Linked DNA regions of Homo sapiens: regions 1, 2, 3 and 5 are each linked to region 4. Evidence: promoter capture Hi-C in 16 types of primary human blood cells and fetal thymus (Javierre and others, 2016). All regions are on one chromosome and are shown on one strand. Each heading gives the region's core, a stretch centred on a gene start or on the middle of the fragment in contact. The rest is flanking DNA. Distances are from core to core; before and after follow the strand shown. Region 1 holds the start of IPO4 (importin 4). Region 2 holds the start of CHMP4A (charged multivesicular body protein 4A). Region 3 holds the start of TINF2 (TERF1 interacting nuclear factor 2). Region 4 overlaps BCL2L2-PABPN1 (BCL2L2-PABPN1 readthrough). Region 5 holds the start of IRF9 (interferon regulatory factor 9).

Region 1 (2,700 bases), core at 81-2,580, 880 kb after region 4:
GAGTCTCATTCAGAAGCCGAAGAAGCTCCCGGTGGTGGGGTTGGAAGGCCTCGGGCCGGGAGGTCACCACCACACTTAGCAGCAAAAGCCCCATCTGTCCAAGAATAGAGGATGGGAGAGCAAGCTTACAAGGTCTATCCAGCCTCTCAGGCCCTCCCTCCTGCCAACCATGTGATGGTACCTCTCTCTCTGGGCTGTGGGGGCTGTGGGTACTGTGCTGAAGCAGCTGCAAAAGCTGTGGCCAGGCCTCCAAGCCTTCCTTTCGAAAAATGGTGGCTGAGAGCTGGGCCAGGCTGAGGCTCACACAGTGCCTGCAAACAGGAGAGATCTCCTCCAATCACCCTTCAATACCTTCCTCTGCACACAGTGGCCAGGCTCAATGGGGCAGCCAGGACAGAAACTTTCAGGAGGTGTGGGCACAGGGTCTTTGCCAAGTTGGGACACATGAGACAGCAGCTCAGAGGGAGCCCAACAGCACTGTGGGCATGTAATCTGGTAAGTTCAGTCTAACTTAGCCTGAATTTCAGTCTTATTCTTCTGACTTGGGTTTGGCAGATCATCATCACCCTTCCTCAAGAACTTTAGTCTTCAAAACAGCCTTAAAATCCTCACTCCACCTTGCGTCTAGAACTGAAGTCCCTGCCCCACAAGTCCCAGCCTGGAGCCGAAAAGGAAGGCAGAAACCTAGACAAAGTCGTCAAGATCCCGAGAGAAGTGGGTAGGTACTTACTCTGTTTCTCTCTGCAGGGCCGTCAGGATCAGGGACTTGAGGCTGGAACACAGGTGGCAGGTGTTTGGTACCCAGCCTGCCCAAGAAAAGTCTCCGCCTGGCCCCGCCCCACCCCAGGCCCAGCCCACCTCTCCCGTTGCTCCGCCGCCAGCCGTCGCCAGCGGGTGTTCAGTCGTCTGCGGGTCAGCACGGCCGCAAACTGGCGGATCTAGGACGAGGAAGCAAGCACGTGGGGGTCCGGGCAGGAAGGTGCTGAGCGGACCGCAGTGGGCGAATACTGGGGCTTGACCGGTGGCGTACAGTGGGAAGCTCGGAGGGGAGAGTCAGGGGTCTCACCTGGGGGTCGGCCGCCGAGGCTAGCAGGTCGCAGAGAGCCGGCAAAGCGGCGGGGGCCCGAAGAACGATCTGGAGCTGTTCCGTGGCCTGGGGGGAAGCTAGGGGTGAGAGTTGGGCCTTTCCCGCAACCTCCCGCTCGCCCTGGCCCGGTTACGCCTGCTCCGTACCCGACGGATGCGCTCGGTGTCCGGTAGCAGCAGCTCCCGTAGGAGCTGCTCTAGCCCGGCTGACTCCATGGCAGCAACTGAGCCGCCGCTACTGGGCCGAAAAGGGGAGGGGGAGGGACAGCACGTGGAGGTTCTGACACCCACTTCCGGAGGAAAGGGCGTTGCTGCACGCCCCGCGGGTTGCCAAGGTGATTCAATTCGCTTCCCACAAAGAGGTCCGGCTCCTCCACTTCCGTTAGGCTGAGCACCGGCTGAATCGCGGAAACCCGACTCTGGCAATGTAGGTTCCCCACGCCGGGAGTTCCCAAGCTGGGTTGGAGAACTCGAGCTTCGGGCATTCAGTGGCCAGCTCGGCTTTATAAAGGACCGTGCCCTTAACAGCAGGGCTCGAGTTCCTATATCCAGACCAAAACCTCCAACTGCATGAGCCTTTTTCTTAATAAATTTTATTTTGGTAATTGTAAAAAGAAAAATCAGGACCAAAACTAAAGGCAACTTAAAAAGTTCAAATATATAATCCTTATGTGATAGAGATTTATAATTTCCAGGCCCTCTCTGGGGAAGGAATGCCCAAAGGGCAAAAGGGAAGGCAACAATGCCATCACACAATTCAGTCAATCAGAAGAGAAGCTGGTAGGAGAGTTCAACAGGGCATGAAGAAAGGGAGAGAACAGCAATAGTTCTGCCATACAGAACTCAGTCCATCTTGAGGTTAACATAGATATACCGGATGAACTTTAGGGAAGAAAAAAAGGAGATGGTGCCCAGCATGAGGAAGAAGACATAACCAGTGAGTAAGGAGTAGCCGAAGAACTCTACTGTCTGTACTGCCCCAGACATGTTGGAGCGCCGGGCATAATAGAAAACTGAGTAGAGGAAGATGAAGAGGCCGGTGGAGCCAACACTCAGCACAGATCGCCACCACCAGCGGTAATCCTCCCCAGACAACTGGAAGTAGGTGAGTGCAATGGAGATGCAAGCCCCCACACTCAGCAGGATGGCGAAGACAAAGAAGAGGATGCCGTACAAAGTGTACTGCTCCCGACCCCATACTGTGGCAAAGATGTAGTACAGCTCCACAGAGATGGCACTGTGAAGAAAAGAGATGATACACAGCATTAAAGGGCTGTGCACCATCAGCACAGTGGCTGGGCTGAAATCCAGCCCCCACCCTCTCCCATGTTGCTGGGTCATTGTGAAAAGTGAGTTCACTCCACTCTCTGCCCCAGATCTCCTGGCTTCATGGGGATTTTTTGCCTATGATTAGCCGCTCTCACTTCAAGAATATCTTCCCTAATAGATTGAGGGCAGGGATCTTGTCCATTTTATTCCACTTTATTCTTTGCCTGGCACAAAGAGGTATTCAACAAAGTAAATGGGTCATCAAATGGGCTTTAAACCCCACATGATGTCCATAGGCATTAAAGTCAGAAACCAGGAAGGTGAAGGGGGAAATGTCTCCGGAGA
Region 2 (2,700 bases), core at 150-2,649, 900 kb after region 4:
GCTGCCTTTCTTTTTTTTTCTTTAGGCAGAGTTTCAGTCTTGTTGCCCAGGCTGGAACGCAATGGCGTGATCTCAGCTCACCTCAACCTCCGCCTCCTGGGTTCAAGCAATTCTCCTGCCTCAGCCTCCCAAATAGCTGGGATCACAGGCATGTGCCACCATGCCTGGCTAATTTTTTGTGTTTTTAGTACAGACAGGCTTTCTCCATGTTGGTCAGGCTGGTGTCGAACTCCCAACCTCAGGTGATCTGCCCGCCTCGGCCTCCCAAAGTGTTTTGATTACAGGCATGAGCCACCGCGCCAGGACTTCTTTTTTTGAGACAGAGTCTCGCTCTGTTGCCCAGGCCAGAGTGCAGTGGCATGATCTCAGCTCATTGCAACCTCCGTCTCCCGGGTTCAAGTGATTCTCCTGCCTCAGCCTCCCTGAGTAGCTGGGACTACAGGCACACACCATCATGCCCACCTAATTTTTTTTTTTTTTTTTGAGAATGGAGTCTCCCTCTGTCACCAAGGCTGGAGTGCATTGGTGCAATCTTGGCTCACTACAACCTCCGCCTCCTGGGTTCAAGCGATTCACCTGTCTCAGCCTCCCCCAGTAGCTGGGACTACAGGCGCGTGCCACCACAACCAGCTAATTTTTTTTTTTTTTTTGTATTTTTAGTAGAGACAAGGTTTCACCATGTTGTCCAGGCTGGTCTCGAACTCTTGACCTCAGGTGATCCACCCACCTCGGCCTCCCAAAGTGCTGGGATTACAGGCGTGAGCCACCGCGCCCGGCCAATTTTTATATTTTTAGTAGAGACGGGGTTTCACCATATTGGCCAGGCTGATCTCAAACTCCTGACCTCATGATCCACCCACGTCGGCCTCCCAAAGTGTTGCGAGTACAGGCGTGAGCCCCCGCGCCGGGCTAAGAAGGCAGTCTTTCTTCTTCACCTTAGATCCCTCTTGCCCAGCACAAAGTATTATAGAACAAGGTTTTGAAAATGGCTGAAGACAGCAGGAAACTCGTCTTCAAGCCTGAACAGTGGGAGTCAGCACGATCGCCACGCCCTCAACTCAAGTCCCCTCCCAGATCTTGAGTTCTTCCCTCTGAGAGTGGGGGAGGACGGCGGACGGGAACAAGGCGCCCCGACATGGTGTGCCTTTTGGCACCGGCGATGAGCCTTGCTCCGCCATCGGCCGCCGGGGTTTTCCAGTCAGCCTGTCTCCTGATTCTCTTCCCCTGCCCGGCGCAGCGGTCCGGCCGAATCTCGCCGGGGTCTCCTCTTCCCCTGCACCAGCCAGCGCCTCCTGGCTGGCCAGTCCCACCCTGGCTCACCCTTCCCGAAGAGCCTGCCGAGACCACTCATCGCGAGCTCGCCTCTCCCGCCTCCGCCCCTCAGCGTCCTCCAGACTTCCGCCTTGCTCCTGGGAGGGTGATGTCTCATCACACAGGGACCAGCCTTGCCCAATCCGTCCTCAGGGCGCCGCCGCGACATCAAGAGGCGCAAACGAGACCACCGGTGTCACGTGACCCAAGCCACCAGCCCCAGACCGACGCGCTCCTCTTAAAGCTGCCACATCATTTTCTATTAAGTAAAAAGACAGTTCTATCTCCACCTGAGTACGTGCTTGTTCTCCGGAAGGAAATGTGCAGTGTGATGGCACCTCAGTGTATGGGGTCAGTGGGAAAACTTCATGCTCTTTACAGAGCTCAGGAAAGTGGGGTGGTATAGGTTCAAGCACTTGGGGTTGCCCTAAGTTTAGATGGCAAACCTGATGCAGTCTAATGTCTCACATTCTGGTCTCTGCACCTCAGGACAACCAACCCCATTTCACAGGCTAGAAAAATAGAAACTCCCCACACTGTGGGTAAAATCTCTTCTGTCACACACAGATGAACTTTAATAAATTACAAATGCACCTGAAAATGCCTTCTTGATTTCCTTTCAGTTTAGGCCTCAAATGGGCTCTCCTCAAGGCTGGACCTCAAAGGCCCAGTTTGGGCCTTCGCAAATGTCTCTAACCCTTGACTTAGAGTTTGAAGATTCATTCCATTCTGGATGTGAATGCAGGTAACACCTAGAAAGATAAGAAGTCACATTTCATTAAGCTTTCAGGGTTCTCCATTATTACTCTGACCTTTGTGAGTGCCACCTATAGGGCAAACTATCCAACCTGTATGTATCTACCTAATCCCTCCTAGGGACCCCAAATGGCTGTTCCTCATCACTCAGTACCCAGTTTGCTGACGTCTACAATATTCCGCCTCTCATCATCAAAGAAGATCATCTGGGAGAAAGGAATTCCAGTCTTCTGCTGCAACCTATTCAAGACAGGGCAGGAGTAACCAAGCTAGTATCTTGGTTTCCCAGGCCTCTCTGATACTTTCTCACCCTGCTCCTCCCTTATCTCCGCATACCTCTCAAAGTGTGTGATCTTGCTGCCTGGATAGATTTCCCGATGAACAAAGTACCTGAAGAGGTCAAAGAGCTCCAGTAGCTGGTTGGCCCCTTCTATCTCACTTGTCCTGCAAAACGGTGTAAAAGATGGGATTAGCAAAGTGAAGGGCCAGGGCTACGTTAACTTATTAAGCAAAGTTAGTAAGTATAACCAGGGAAATCAACTTGCTGTTTTTCCGGGATGGACAGGCATCCTCAGCCTCTGTTTAACTCCATTGCCTTCCTATTTGACACAATTGGTGCTGGGCCAATGTTTT
Region 3 (2,700 bases), core at 1-2,500, 930 kb after region 4:
TAATCCTGGCCATTTGGGAGGCCGAGGTGGGCGGATCACTTGAGGTCAGGAGTTCGAGACCAGCCTGGCCAACATGGTGAAACCCCATCTCTACTAAAATACAAAAATTAGCTGGGCATTTGTAATCCCAGCTACTCGGGAGGCTGAGGCAGGAGAATCGCTTGAACCCGGGAGGCAGAGGTTGCAGTGAGCCGAGATTGTGCCACTGCACTCCAGCCTGGGCGACAGAGCAAGATTCCTCAAAAAAAAAAAAAAATGGGTTAGAGAAAATAGCCACATAATAGCCTTCAAACCAGTCTCACCTGCAGCTTCGAGGCCAAATCCACAGGAGCCTCTGACAGCTGCTTCACCTGCTGGTAAAAAGTTTCCTGTGCCTCCAAAATCTTCCTCAGATCCTGCTTTGTCTGTTGAGGATACAGAAGACAGAGAAGTTAGCACCAACATCCAGTAGACAGGAGGAGCAACTTTGCTGCACCAAGTGTAACTGGGGTCAGGGCTTGTTCCGGGGATTACTCACAGCCTTGGGATCCCGCACTATAGGTCCAGATTCTGGAAAGTGGTGATTCAGGGCTTTCAGGACTTGGGCCCAAGGCCGGCCCTGCAGGATCAGCTCCACCACCACCTGTACGGTACTGAATTCAGAATCCCCACTTCGGGGCAAGCTGACCTTTTCCAACTAGTCTCATCCCCAAGCTGTGGGCCCTTGTCAGGTGCTCGCATCCCGCCCCTTTCTTTCTTTCCCCTTCCAGGTCCTACTTGCTCCAATACCTTGGCCTTTAGGCCCATACAAAGGCGTTCGTGGTGCCGGTAGCGAACCAAGCCAGGGGCAACAGCGCGCAGAGATCGCAGAAACTCCAGTACTCGCGGAAAATGTTCCACGCAGCGTCCGCGCACAACCTGCCAGCTAGCCGCGGCGGCGAAGCGTAGAGCTGCGGGACCCGCCACCAGGGGCGTAGCCATGGTCGGCGGGCTCCGCCCGGAGGCGGTCCCTCCGGGTTCCTCACCCGGATGGGTGAGGCTTTCCGATCACTCCTAGGGGCGGGGCTTCTGGCAACTCCCTGTCGCTCCGGTCTGTCGGCTCTGGGTACCTCGCGATCTGACTCGGCTCCCTTCCATCGGCCCCCAGAATTCTGGGGGAGGGGGTCTTCTGGCTCGGGCTGGAGGAGCCTGAGTGGAGAAGCTGACCGTCTCCAGTGGCACTGGGTCGCTCAGCTTTAAACGTCGCCGCTGTCTCGAGCCCGAGGGTGCCTCACTTCCGGCTCCGCTACTAGCTTCCCTTGCCCCGGAAAAGGGCGGTAAGAGGGAGCCAATGGGCGGCCACAGAGGGAACCGTGACGGTGCGTCAGAAGGCCACGCCCCAGCGGAGCTGTAGCTGCCCGCTTCCTGCACTCTCTGCCGGCTGACATGAGTTGGCGGCTGAGGCTGTCGTGGCCGCTGAGGCTGTTGTGGCCGTTCGTCTGGGTCCTCCCAGCCTTGCTTTCTTCGCGGAGCCTGCGGAGAAGCCCCGTCACTCCCGTGAGGCTCGACTTCCTAGTCTGTAAAACGAGGATCATGCCACCGCCCTTTCCCACTGTCTTCACCCATCGAAATTTAGTTCTTTAAATTCCAGACCCGAGCCGGCGTCTACAAAGCCTTCCCCTCTGCGCGCGTCGCTTCCAGTAGGAATTCGACTGTTCCTTTTATAAAACAGAAGAGGGCGCCCGCCCTTAAAAAATAAAATACAGGCTGGGCGTGGTGGCTTGTGTCTAATCCCAGCGCTTTGAGAGGCCGAGGCAGGAGGGTCACTTGAGCCCAGGAGCTCCAGACAAGCCTGGGCGACATGGTGAAACCCCTTCTCTGCTAAAAGTACAAAAATTAGCTGGGCGTGGTGGCAGGCGCCTGTAATCCCAGCTACTCGGGAGGCCGAGGCAGGAGAATCGCTTGAACCCAGTAGACGGGAGGTGGCAGTGAGCCGCGATCTTGCCTCTGCATTCCAGCCTGGGCGACAGAGGGAGAATCTCTCTCAAAGAAAAAAAAAAAAAAAAAAAGAGGAAGAAGAAGAAATAGAATACAGGCTGGGGGCACGGTGACTCACACCTGTAATCCCAGCACTCTGAGAGGCCGAGAGGGGAGGATCGATCCGCTTGAGCCCAGGAGTTCCAGACCAGACTGGATCACATGGCGATAACCTGTCTCTACTGAAAATCAAAAAAACTAGCCGGGCGTAGTGGCACGCCTGTAGTCCCAGCTACTCAGGAGGCTGAGTTGGGAGGATTGTTTGAGCCAGGGAGGTTGAGGCTTCAGTGACTGCACTCCAGCCTGAGTGATAGAGTGAGACGGGGTCTCACACACACACACAAATTAGTTTCTTGTTTTAGGATTCTGTTGTGCACTGAACTTGTCAGCCCCCTAATGTAATTGACTGCTCTCCTTGACTGTCTCTTCCACAGGCTTCCTGGTGCCTCTCATTTCCATCAGCAAGCACAGAACCTAACACACAGCTTACACTCCTTAATTGTTGGCTGGATTAGTTGCCTGCCTTGACCACCTTACAAGGATTTAGTGAAACTGCTCCGTCTTTAGCCCATGTCTTCCATTCCCAGAGATAATGGTTCACACATCCTTGTCTCCGCCCCGGATCAGTCTCAGCTGATCCGCACATTCGACTGCCCAAGAAACACCCAGTCCCAAAGTACCCCAAATTGGATATGTGTGAAATTC
Region 4 (2,700 bases), core at 193-2,692:
CATCTGCTCCCCCTCATCTTGTGTCTCTGCCAACATCTTTACATCTTGCATTTGGGGAGGTCCTAAGACCCTTCCTCTAGCCAAGAAGGTGTGGACTAAGGAGACCCGGGGGTGGGGGTGTTGTAGGGGTGTCATTGAGCTGACGTTGTCTTATTGTGAAAAGAATCTAAAGTATCCTAAACAGAAAATTTACTTGTTTTACATTTAATTTGGCATATTAGGAATGTAATGGCCAGCCACTCACAGCCTAGTCTCATATCATGACTTAATTCCCTTGTTCTTGCCTCTCCCTGTCCAGTGAGTCCTGAGCATTTCCTCTCTCCTCCTCATCTCACTGGGTTGGTCAAACCAGAAGTGCTCCTTCTGATTCTCTCTTCATATATTCATGCCAGTCTTTCATCCTTGCCTCTTATAGCCGCCCGGATGGCGACCCCAGCCTCGGCCCCAGACACACGGGCTCTGGTGGCAGACTTTGTAGGTTATAAGCTGAGGCAGAAGGGTTATGTCTGTGGAGCTGGCCCCGGGGAGGGCCCAGCAGCTGACCCGCTGCACCAAGCCATGCGGGCAGCTGGAGATGAGTTCGAGACCCGCTTCCGGCGCACCTTCTCTGATCTGGCGGCTCAGCTGCATGTGACCCCAGGCTCAGCCCAACAACGCTTCACCCAGGTCTCCGATGAACTTTTTCAAGGGGGCCCCAACTGGGGCCGCCTTGTAGCCTTCTTTGTCTTTGGGGCTGCACTGTGTGCTGAGAGTGTCAACAAGGAGATGGAACCACTGGTGGGACAAGTGCAGGAGTGGATGGTGGCCTACCTGGAGACGCAGCTGGCTGACTGGATCCACAGCAGTGGGGGCTGGGTAAGAAGCTTCTCAATTGCCGCTCTGCACATCCTTCTGCAAAGCTGGTCTCCAGGGGGAAGATGGGGGCTCTGATTGGAGGCTGAGGCAGCTATGTTGGGAATGAGGTACGGGGCTGAGTCTCCCCGTCTGGATGGAATTAGATTGAGAGATGCCTGGACTCTGCACTCCAGGGCTGCCATGCAGTCAACACTGGATGGGCTCATGGTCCCAAGCAGAGGACAGAATACACACCCAAGGAGTGCCTGCAGGGGAATGTTGTCAGGGACTTTTTACATCTGAGTCATGGCGTGGGAGGTGGGGAGGACCAGGGATGGGTGGTGGTCAGGCAAGCCTTGGCAAAGGATGCTAGTTCTGAGCAGAATTTTTCGCCAAGGAAAGGATGGAATTCACTGGAGGCAGAGTGGGCAGATGAACCAGTCTCTCAGGGTGGGGGTGCACCTGGGGGGATCAGAGGGGCTTGCAGGGAGAAGAGCTTTGGCCAGAGAGGAGCTGGGTATGGGGTAGTGCTCGCAGTGGATGGAACTGGAACTCTTCCTCTCCTCTTCTCTCCACTCTTTCCTCTCCTGATATCCCTTTCTCCTTCTTTCTCTCCTGCTTCCCTTCTCTCCCACAGGCGGAGTTCACAGCTCTATACGGGGACGGGGCCCTGGAGGAGGCGCGGCGTCTGCGGGAGGGGAACTGGGCATCAGTGAGGACAGTGCTGACGGGGGCCGTGGCACTGGGGGCCCTGGTAACTGTAGGGGCCTTTTTTGCTAGCAAGTGAAAGTCCAGGGCCAGGTGGGGCTAGGTGTGGCTGGGGGCCAGGAGAGCAGGAACAGAACAGAGAAATGCCCTTGGAAGAAGTGGAGTTGGTGGATGGGTGGGCATGGAACAGGATGGGCAGAGAAAGGGTAGTGTGTGAGGGAGCTGAGTAGGCCAGGTAGGCGATTGGAAGAGTGAGCAGGACACAGAGGGGAGGGGAATGTTTTGGCAAGTTTAGGGGCACAGGAGATGTAGTCGTTCCAGGGCTGGGGGAGGTGGGAGGGATCACGCCTATAGGTGTGGGCACATGAAACGACCTGGAACTTGCTTCACAGCCCTGAGGAAGGTGGACTTACATAAGCAGCTGTATTCCATTAGATGAGTGGGATTTAGGGAACGCAGAAGGCACATCCCTTTGGAATGGAAGCTTAGGGGTTCTCAGGTGATAGGGAGAGGTGGCTGTTAACAGTGGGCTGCTTGGACACGCGTGTGCATGTGCACGCATGCTGGTGTGCATGCTGGGCTGCCTGGCAAATCTGGTGGTGATGGGATTCCTCAAGGAGAAAACATTCCCTCTTGCAATGGCAAGAACTAGGGGCAGTTCTCTGTCCCTCCTCCCAACCCCTCCTTTCCCCTGCCCTTGTCCTGATGCCTCAAGGCTTAGAGAGAAACATTGTATCCAGACCGAGGGCTCTGCTGCTTCTTTCCAGAAAGTGATTGGCAAGGCTTTGGAGAGAAGAGCAGTTCTGCAGCTGGCCTTGTTCCTTCATCATCCCCCTTCCTTGTGCATTATGCACTTGCTGCTGCCTCCTGGGCTCTGATAGAAGGGCAGGGCTGTTGAGCCTGGATGGGTGGAGGCTTAGGTAGCCGGACCTGCCTGCCACCCTCCTCTCCCACTCAGGCACAATGGTGCCTAAAGTGTTTCCAATCTCTGGGACCTCTGTACCCAAACTGAAACTCTAAATTGGGGCCCTAACTAATTTTCCTTTTGAGGTTGTGGGCATAAGTGCTGATCTAGAATACAGTCTGGGTCCCACACTGTGTCTCAGTGAGACTGTTGATGCCTTGAGATGACCATTTCAGATCTGAATCCCATGGGTG
Region 5 (2,700 bases), core at 1-2,500, 850 kb after region 4:
GGCATGCCCAGGCAGTAAAATGGGTCCTTGGGAGCAGTAGGTCTTGCAGTGGGTGGGAGGGAGGAGGCTTTCTGGGCAAGGGCATGGGTAGATAGTAGCAGGCAGTGTGGGCACAGGTGGGTTGTTAATCTTGTTCGTCCAGGTGTCTCAGAGTCCAGCTATGTTAGACACACTCAGTTAATATTAGCCAACACAACAAATATTCTGCTCCCTTTTCTCCCCAGGGCACACTACAAAGAGTATCTTGTGAGCCTCATCAATGCCCACTCGCTGGACCCAGCCACCTTGTATGAGGTGGAAGAGCTGGAGACGGCCACTGAGCGCTACCTGCACGTACGCCCCCAGCCTTTGGCTGGAGAGGATCCCCCTGCTTACCAGGCCCGCTTGTTACAGGTATAGCCTCCACCCAGCCTCATCTCTTAACCCACCCTACAGAAGTCACCTGGTGCTGACTGTGTCTGAGCTCCAGGCTTCCAATATCATTACCTTCTCTCTCCTTCTGCAGAAGCTGACAGAAGAGGTACCCTTGGGACAGAGTATCCCCCGCAGGCGGAAGTAGCTGAGGGCAAGGGTCCCGATGAGGGTCCCATGGCCTGCTCCCTCAGGAACAGCTCCAGCACCAATAAAGAGGCATCTTACCACCCAGGCTTCTTGGTGGTCCTTCTTCCTGGTGCCACCATCTAGGGGCACCAGGGAAAGAGCGGGGTGAACAGAGCTTTGCTGAAAAGGGCCCCCTGCAACCTAGTGCCTGACCCTCCCTGGACTCAGGACCAGGAAGGAGTTGACACCCTGGATGGTCAAGGGAGGCCCTCCCCATCCAGCAGCCTGGCCTGGGCTTCCTCCCTCCCTGCCTCCTTTTTTCCTTTCATAGAATTTGACTGGTATTTGAAGTCACCCAATATGTATCAGGTGGGCACTGTGGGGGAATGCAGATGCACAGGTGTACACAGCAGTCCAGAGGTCCCAGGCCTGACTCCAGGAAACTGGCCTCCCTGGGGAAGCCACGGTGTCACCCAGAGGTCAGATAGAAGCAAGAGTATCTGAGGGAGGCAGGGGAATGAGCCAGGCTGGAGCTGAGCCAGCAGGGCAGGGCCCCCCTGCTGCGACAGTGGCATCCTGATAGTGAGATGCTCAGATGCTGCTGCCCTCTAGTGGCCGCCAGTTCCCTGCAACTCAGACCACGTGATTTCTGGGAAAAGGCCCTCCCTGGAGGAGAACTGAAACTTAGGGTGGGGACTGTAGAAAGGGGCGGAGAGATCAGCCGCCCAGCCAGGAGTTAAGCTGAGGTCGTCTGAGCCCTGCGACAGCCTGGACAGCAACTCAGGTAAGATCAGCCAAGGATGGGAGTCAGCCTGGGATCTAGGGCTAGAAAGTCCAGCCAGATTGAGGGCAGGGGGTCCTAGGGGTCGCTCTGTTAGACTGAGGGATAGACAGAAGATCTCTTAAGTCAGGAAGTGGGAGATTCAGCCTGAGAGTGAGACTGACAAGGGCCAGCTCCCCAGACCCTTGTAGGCAAAGGTCAGGAGGACCTACTGCTGGATTGTTCAAGGAAGAAGGCTCCTGGCCCCAGCCTCAGTGGACCATTTGTTTCCTTGCCATCTGGCCCTGCCCACTTCTGCTGCAGCTCCAACCCCACCCCTACTTCCTGCCCCACCTACTCCTGGGGCCGGCAGGGGGTGGGGGTCAGGCTAGGTTGTGTAGGCTGTGGGGCGGTGGGTGAAGAGCCTGATGGATCTCAGCAGAACCTACCTCTGCTGATGCTCGGGAATCTAGACAGGGCCTGTCACCAGGAACGATCACCAAAGGAATTCTTTTGTAAACAATACATCTCTGAAAAGTCCTAAAATTAAGACCAGTGCCCAAGGTTTCCTTCCAGGTATCACAGCTTAGAGTGCTAAAAACAATGTTTTGGGGGGTTTTGTTGTTGTTGTTGTTGTTTGTCACTGCTAGTGATGGCAGAAAGGAAACAATTCTGTCCCATAGAGTGTTGAAATGTGTTTGGAGCTAAAAGAAGATGGATGGGATCTCTGGGACCTGTTGCCAGAATCTAGTCTCAATGGCCAGGGTCTCAGGAGATGTTCCCTCCCAAAGTGTCAGTTCTGATGCATCCTGCTCCTATTATCCCCCAGGATGGCATCAGGCAGGGCACGCTGCACCCGAAAACTCCGGAACTGGGTGGTGGAGCAAGTGGAGAGTGGGCAGTTTCCCGGAGTGTGCTGGGATGATACAGCTAAGACCATGTTCCGGATTCCCTGGAAACATGCAGGCAAGCAGGACTTCCGGGAGGACCAGGATGCTGCCTTCTTCAAGGTGAAAGGGCCTGGAAACCACTGTTCCTCTGTGTGTGGGATGGTGTATACACACTGGTACACTCATCCTCGAGCACTTGCGTCTGCCTGGGTTTCAGATAAGGGACAGATTGGAGAGGAAAACTAGCTGCATCATTTGCAGAGTCCAGTACAAAATGAAAATGTGGAGGCCTTGTTCAAAAATTTTAGGGATATTGGCCAGGCACGGTGGCTCACGCCTGTAATCCCAGCACTTCGGGAGGCCAAGGTGGGTGGATCACGAGGTCAAGAGATCAAGACCAGCCTGGCCAACATGGTGAAACCCTGTCTCTACTAAAAATACAAAACTTAGCTGGGCCTAGCGGTGCATGCCTGTAGTCCCAGCTACTCGGGAGACTGAGGCAGGAGAATC

Evidence for each region. Contacts are between HindIII fragments. The CHiCAGO score rates a contact against its expected background, and 5 or more counts as called.
Region 1: the fragment with the promoter of IPO4 here is called in contact with a fragment that was not itself captured in region 4 in 1 of 17 cell types (naive CD8 T cells); the score reaches 5.4 in naive CD8 T cells.
Region 2: a contact is called between the fragment with the promoter of CHMP4A here and a fragment that was not itself captured in region 4, in 2 of 17 cell types (M1 macrophages and M2 macrophages). The highest score is 6.8, in M1 macrophages.
Region 3: a contact is called between the fragment with the promoter of TINF2 here and a fragment that was not itself captured in region 4, in 1 of 17 cell types (non-activated CD4 T cells). The highest score is 7.1, in non-activated CD4 T cells.
Region 5: a contact is called between the fragment with the promoter of IRF9 here and a fragment that was not itself captured in region 4, in 1 of 17 cell types (M0 macrophages). The highest score is 6.3, in M0 macrophages.

Annotation. Positions count from the first base shown.
Region 1 is chr14:24,187,486-24,190,185 of GRCh38, forward strand. It overlaps IPO4 (importin 4), which reads right to left and starts at 1,331. Exons shown (of 30, transcript NM_024658.4): 1 at 1,234-1,331; 2 at 1,067-1,153; 3 at 859-938; 4 at 731-772; 5 at 182-311; 6 at 1-94. The coding sequence starts at 1,302. It overlaps TM9SF1 (transmembrane 9 superfamily member 1), which reads right to left. Exons shown (of 6, transcript NM_006405.7): 6 at 1,664-2,323. The coding sequence ends at 1,930. RefSeq lists silencers at 327-537, 783-902. The HindIII fragment of the contact is 6,803 bases long and covers 123-2,700 here.
Region 2 is chr14:24,212,089-24,214,788 of GRCh38, forward strand. CHMP4A (charged multivesicular body protein 4A) reads right to left here and starts at 1,400. Exons shown (of 6, transcript NM_014169.5): 1 at 1,321-1,400. The coding sequence starts at 1,351. It overlaps NEDD8-MDP1 (NEDD8-MDP1 readthrough), which reads right to left. Exons shown (of 7, transcript NM_001199823.3): 5 at 2,404-2,511; 6 at 2,222-2,307; 7 at 1,855-2,063. The coding sequence ends at 1,936. It overlaps MDP1 (magnesium dependent phosphatase 1), which reads right to left. Exons shown (of 6, transcript NM_138476.4): 4 at 2,404-2,511; 5 at 2,222-2,307; 6 at 1,855-2,063. The coding sequence ends at 1,936. RefSeq lists enhancers at 809-928, 883-1,691, 1,119-1,618, 1,255-1,549. The HindIII fragment of the contact is 5,751 bases long and covers 1-2,092 here.
Region 3 is chr14:24,241,373-24,244,072 of GRCh38, forward strand. It overlaps TINF2 (TERF1 interacting nuclear factor 2), which reads right to left and starts at 1,251. Exons shown (of 9, transcript NM_001099274.3): 1 at 769-1,251; 2 at 518-622; 3 at 303-404. The coding sequence starts at 960. RefSeq lists enhancers at 1-19, 680-899, 970-1,229, 1,400-1,699 and a silencer at 1,891-2,185. The HindIII fragment of the contact is 13,864 bases long and covers 1-2,700 here.
Region 4 is chr14:23,307,345-23,310,044 of GRCh38, forward strand. It overlaps BCL2L2-PABPN1 (BCL2L2-PABPN1 readthrough), which reads left to right. Exons shown (of 8, transcript NM_001387346.1): 3 at 416-855. The coding sequence starts at 424. BCL2L2 (BCL2 like 2) reads left to right here. Exons shown (of 4, transcript NM_004050.5): 3 at 416-855; 4 at 1,472-2,700. The coding sequence starts at 424. The coding sequence ends at 1,621. Among named protein-coding and RNA genes, the nearest start is that of BCL2L2-PABPN1, 1.9 kb to the left of the region's middle. RefSeq lists an enhancer at 348-1,181. The HindIII fragment of the contact is 1,163 bases long and covers 862-2,024 here.
Region 5 is chr14:24,160,015-24,162,714 of GRCh38, forward strand. IRF9 (interferon regulatory factor 9) reads left to right here and starts at 1,251. Exons shown (of 9, transcript NM_006084.5): 1 at 1,251-1,324; 2 at 2,130-2,310. The coding sequence starts at 2,131. RNF31 (ring finger protein 31) reads left to right here. Exons shown (of 21, transcript NM_017999.5): 20 at 225-393; 21 at 506-641. The coding sequence ends at 559. RefSeq lists enhancers at 978-1,367, 2,357-2,416. The HindIII fragment of the contact is 4,395 bases long and covers 1-2,700 here.